Regions from separate parts of the Homo sapiens genome. Here region 2 is linked to region 1. Evidence: promoter capture Hi-C in 16 types of primary human blood cells and fetal thymus (Javierre and others, 2016). All regions are on one chromosome and are shown on one strand. Each heading gives the region's core, a stretch centred on a gene start or on the middle of the fragment in contact. The rest is flanking DNA. Distances are from core to core; before and after follow the strand shown. Region 1 holds the start of GRIK1-AS1 (GRIK1 antisense RNA 1). Region 2 overlaps GRIK1 (glutamate ionotropic receptor kainate type subunit 1).

Region 1 (2,850 bases), core at 154-2,653:
TTGAAGGGAACAACCAGAAATGCAATTTAAAGTGGTGTTCTTTTGATGTTCAAAGTAACTTTTGGTGATTTTTACACACAGAGAAAAAGAAAACATTTTTTCCCTACTCAAGGTACTGCCATACAAAATAATCAAAAGGAAAAAGTATCACTTTTAGGTAGCCATTTTCTACACCTCAATCAGATTAAAGGTCTATTTTTCATCGGTTTACTTAGAGTGAATTTGCACTGCTGCATGGTGTTGTTAGTCTTTGTTGGATACCATAAGGTGTCTCCCAAGAACTTAGGAATAATGAAAATAAAATTGTTCCCTGAGAGCTAAACTATGAGCCAAACAAATAATAAATAAAAGTAGAGAATCACAGTTACCTTAAATAGACAAAAGAGCTCCCAGGACTGCAAGACTTGATTGTAACCTGCCTGAATGTATTAGAGTACTAAGAAAGAATATAGTCTCAACTGATGTCTGCACAGCCATGGGAAGATAAGGGAAAAGAAAGTCTCAGAGCAATATGGGCATGCCATTTATGCATGGTCCTGGCTAGGGAGTAAGAGCATCCTTTTGAGTAGGATATGTCTAGCTCTTACACATCAGATTAATCTCCCAAATCCTTGTTGTGTTCTCTTTACATGATCAGGAAGGAAATCTCCAATTGTGATCTGGCTTCCTGCAGGGGTTAAGGTAAACAAGGCAGACCCTGAGAAGAGGCGAAGGCAGAAAGTATCAGTTGGTTGAAGAAAGATAGTATCAGTTGTTGAAGAAAGAATAGAAAGCATGGGCCAGGCCGGGTGGCTCACACCTATAATCCCAGCACTTTGGTAGGCTGAGGCAGGTGGATCACGAGGTCAGGAGATCGAGACCATCCTGGCCAATATGGTGAAACCCCGTCTCTACTAAAAATACAAAAATTAGCTGGGCGTGGTGGCACGTGCCTGTAGTTCCAGCTACTCGGGAGGCTGAGGCAGGAGAATCGCTTGAACCTGGGAGGCAGAGCTGGCAGTGAGCAGAGATTGCACCACTGCACTTCAGCCTGGCGACAGAGCATGACTCCATCTCAAAGAAAAAAGAATAGAAAGCATGAGTAGTGATTACAGACATAAATTTCAGTAGCCCACTGAAGAAATATTCTGTGATTTAATGTCAGTCTTTTTAAAGTCACAATTTACAGCAACCTTTTTCTCCCTTAGAATTTAAACATGCTTAATCCCGTTTCATCTCAAACAATAAAATAAAAGAGACATGCCACCTCCACTTTTTCCAACACCCCTTTCCTGAGTTCCAGCTAACACTGTGAAAGCAAGGTGTATGTTTCTTAAGTATTCATTTAAGTTCTTGGGTTTATTTACATATTGTTTCTCCCTGGCATTAATCAGAGTATTGTTTGAATTTTCCAACGGTATTTCAGTTACACTCTGTTGATTCAAAAGAAGGTTGTTTGTCCAAGCTTGTCCAAGTCAGTTTCAAGAGGCTCAGCCACCAAAAGTTTCATCAAAGAGGAAGCCAAGGTCATCAGTAAAGCCTCACGAGAGGTAGGATCACAGGGGTGAAGTGGACACTCACGGGTCCTGCCATCCTTGGCATCAGGAAAGTCTCCATTCTGGACCACCTTTGTCTGTCTGAACAATTCCTCTCAGATTTTAGAGTCTGGAAATTTCCTGAGTAGCTTAAGAGAAGATAAGAGTCAAAGTTTCCAAACTGTAGAAATAACCCAAATGCATGGCTCCTTTTATTTCCACAAATTTGGCCAGAGACATGACAATTTGGGCAACTTTGTGCAATGTTTTACATTTAATGATTTTTATGACCCAAACTCTGCTAGGCAGAATAGTATAAGCATTTGTAATCCGTACTGAAATAATCCATCTGGCATAAAATCCAAATTTCAAAATTGGATGAGATTGTGTGTTCTGGGCCTACCAAGATAGTTATTACACACATGAGAACTCAAAATACTAAAGCTACTGGTAGAAACAATTGCTCTTCTCCTTGCTGTAAACATGAAAGTGAGAAGCAGCAAAGAACGATCAACAAATTAACACCCTTTTCATATTTTTTGTGACAGCTACCTGGAACGGGCAGGAAAGAAAAATGCAGATAAGAAAATTAAAACCACAGACTCCTGGGCAGCGAACAAGAGCCTTCTGATCCTAATTCGATCTGGAGTTAAGAATGAAGGGGATTTCTGTAGCAGTTTCTTTTGCATAGCAGAGCTCCGACTTTTCCAGCAACAGCGTGTCCCTGGAAGCTACACAAAGTCCTCTTTGATTGCCTGTGATCAAAGCCACGAAGGCTCTCCTGCAACATCTTAGCTTCAGAAAGCCAGGAAAATCAGAATGCTGAGAGTATATTAATAATTCCTAAACATATTTTTAAGGTGAGTGGTACTTCTAACAGAGCTTCATTATTACTAAAAATGATTTGTTTCTGACTTTCCTGTTGGGGAAAAAGTTAGCCTTAACTTTCTGATGAGCAAGTTGCATGTTACAGTGGATATTGAACAATATAGTCAGTTGTTTTACTCAGAATTTATGCAGCTGATCACATAGGGACAGGACTGGATGATAGAAAGCTCACTAGACTGGAAGTCAGGAGAATCAGCTTTGTCACCGATCTAACGTAGCATAGTGGACGTGTCTAATAGCCTTGGCCTCAGCATCTCCATCTGTGAAATGGGCTGAAGGGCTTGAGCTCTCTGTTACTTCTTTGGGATGTGGTAGTTAAGAAGGCTCCCATTGGATTCCACATACCCTTGTTTATAGCCATGGCTGAATCTTCACAAGACTGCCAAATCCCAAGCTGCCTCCTCTTCTGTACCATTTCTGCCACATTTGGGTCTTTATCAGCAGGAGA
Region 2 (2,700 bases), core at 95-2,594, 150 kb before region 1:
AGGTTACCTTTTCAGTTCCTTCCTCTTTGAGACTAATAATGTCCAGATCAAAATCCTTCCTCAAGCCATTGGTTTTATTAAAGGTGATATGCCCAGTCAAGCCATCCCACCGGGCCTGTGGACAAGAAGAAATGTGGCTGTTATTGTTAAACATTTATCATAATTCCTGAGACCATCAAAATTATAATACCTCAAATTCATCACAGTATCCAATTATTTGTTTTCATCATGCTGTTATAAACCATTGCATTGGTTCAGCGACAAGATAGCAGAACACATCGTCTTTTTATTAGCACTCATTTATTCTGTCAATTCTAACATCCTAACCCAGTCAAACCTGTCATCGTGGCTACCTAAATGGACAGTATGGAAAGAATTGCCGTAAAACAGTCTGCACACGGAATACACAAAATCTGAGAAATCACAATATTCTGTTTTCCAAGGTCAATCCAAATTCCCTTTGAGATATGGCTGAGTGGAAGTGAGTCCCTGCTTTTTCTTTCTCTGTGAAAAGAATATAGACTAATATAGTCCAATGATGTATTGCAGTTTTTAGGCTGTTTATGACTTAGCGTGTTTGCACCATTTGGGCATTATAATTTCCCGTGGCTGCTGTAGCAAGTAATCACAAACGTGGGTGCTCAAAACAACAGAAATTTATTTTCTCAAGGTTATGGAGGCCTGAAATCCAAAATCAGTGTTAACTGGGTGGAATTAATGTGTCAGCGGGACCGTGCTCTCTCTGGAGGCTCGAGGGAAGACCCTATTCTTTGCCTCCTTCTGCTTCTGGTGGCTTCTGGCATTTCTCCTTCTCTTGTGGTTGCATCACTCCAATCTCTGCCTCAGTGGTCACATTTCCTCCTCCCCTGCTGTCTGCATAAAAGCTCCCTCTGCAAGGTGGAGGTTGTGGTGAGCCGAGATCCTTCCACTGCGCTCCAGGAGCCTGGGCAACAGAGCAAGACTCTGTCACAAACAAACAAACAAACAAACAAAAAGGGTCGGGCGCAGTGGCTTGCGCCTGTAATCCCAGCACTTCGGGATGCCGAGGTGGGCGGAGATCGAGACCATCCTGGCTAACACGGTGAAACCCCATCTCTACTAAAAATACAAAATATTAGCCAGGCGTGGTGGCGCATGCTTGTAATCCCAGCTACTCGGGAGGCTGAGTCAGGAGAATCGCTTGAACCCCAGAGGCAGAGGTTGCAGTGAGCCGAGATTATGCCATTGCACTCCAGCCTGGCGACAGAGCAAGACTCCGTCTAAAACAAAAACAAAAACAAAAAAACTCCTTCTGCTTCTGTCTTATAAAGACACTTGTGATTGTAAATACAATCTAAATAGAACTCACCTGGATAATTTCCCCATCTCAAAAATCCTTAATCACCTATGCAAAGGCCTTTTTGCTATATAAATTAACATTTACAGGTTCCAGGGATGAGGACATGGGTAACTTTTGAGGGTGCCGGTCTTCTTCCTACCCTACATATCAACATCATTTCAAATAACAAAAAATTCACAATAGTCTGCCTTTCACAGAACTCACATTGGGTATCTCTGGTGGTTTTATTAAATAAAAAGCGGTGGCCCTTGGGAGAGTCTTCAGCTTCAATCATTAGGTGATTTTTGGCAACCTTGTTGATTTGAGTTTCACTTACAAATAGGGATAAAGGAAAACTCAGATCTTTGTATCCACTTAGCTGTTTTTCTCCCTCTTGACTTTACCAAATTCATTAGACATGCATAAAATGGGAAGATTCTGAAGAATTACACTGTATTTGCAGTTATTTGCGCCACGTATATATGTTGAATGTATTTACCCATTTGGCCAAGAGGCAGAGCAATGCAGTGAATTTTCCATACCTCTAGGGCTGAATATCTGCAGTGTAACTTCAGGCAAGCTACTGAACTTGAGGCGTTTTAATTTTTAACATTTATTGTTTTTATAACTGTCTCTCACTTTTCCCACTTTCATAATTCTAGAGTTTGGCTATTACTATCTCACGTTTAGCCTTTACTTGGCTGTGCTGTATTTCATTTTACAAATCACGACCAGATTCACGGTCCCCAAGTAAATTTTCGTATTTATGCAATTTTCACCAGCACATAAAGTACATAATGGATTCATTCTACCTACAAATTAGTCTAAACCTTGACTTTACGTTGGAGGTTGTGATGGTTAATTTTGTGTGTCAACTTGCCTAGGCCACACGATGCCCAAATATCTAGTCAAACATTATTTCTGGGTGTGTCTGTGAGGGTGTTTCCAAAAAAGATTAGCATTTGAAATGGTGGACTGAGCAAGGCAGACAGCCCTCTCCACGTGAGTGGGTACCATTCAATTCATGTAGAGCCTGAAAAGAACAAAAAGGCAGAGGAAGAGAGCATTTACTCTCTGCCTGACTGACAGCTGAAACAGCGGCCTTCACCTGTTCTTGAGAACAGGAGATTACATCATCGATGCTCTTCGTTCTCAGGCCTTTAGACTCAGACTAGACTTACACCAGCCAGCTTTCCAGGGTCTCTAGTTTGCAGATGGTAGAATGTGGGACTTCTCAGCCTCCATGTTGGTGTGCCAATTTCTCATAGTAAACCTCTTTGTATATATATCCTATTGTTCTGTTTCTCTGGAGAATTCTGGATAATACAGAGGTCTTTGAAAATTTTGCCTAAGCTACGTCTCCAGAATTTCCTACCACCGCT

The links. Contacts are between HindIII fragments. The CHiCAGO score rates a contact against its expected background, and 5 or more counts as called.
Region 2: a contact is called between a fragment that was not itself captured here and the fragment with the promoter of GRIK1-AS1 in region 1, in 1 of 17 cell types (monocytes). The highest score is 5.5, in monocytes.

Annotation. Positions count from the first base shown.
Region 1 is chr21:29,746,772-29,749,621 of GRCh38, forward strand. GRIK1-AS1 (GRIK1 antisense RNA 1) reads left to right here and starts at 1,404. Exons shown (of 5, transcript NR_027021.1): 1 at 1,404-1,529; 2 at 2,063-2,374. All of the region lies in intron 1 of GRIK1 (glutamate ionotropic receptor kainate type subunit 1), which reads right to left. The HindIII fragment of the contact is 19,094 bases long and covers 1-1,442 here.
Region 2 is chr21:29,598,823-29,601,522 of GRCh38, forward strand. It overlaps GRIK1 (glutamate ionotropic receptor kainate type subunit 1), which reads right to left. Exons shown (of 18, transcript NM_001330994.2): 8 at 8-115. All of the region lies in intron 2 of GRIK1-AS2 (GRIK1 antisense RNA 2), which reads left to right. Among named protein-coding and RNA genes, the nearest start is that of GRIK1-AS2, 4.1 kb to the left of the region's middle. The HindIII fragment of the contact is 3,290 bases long and covers 1-2,700 here.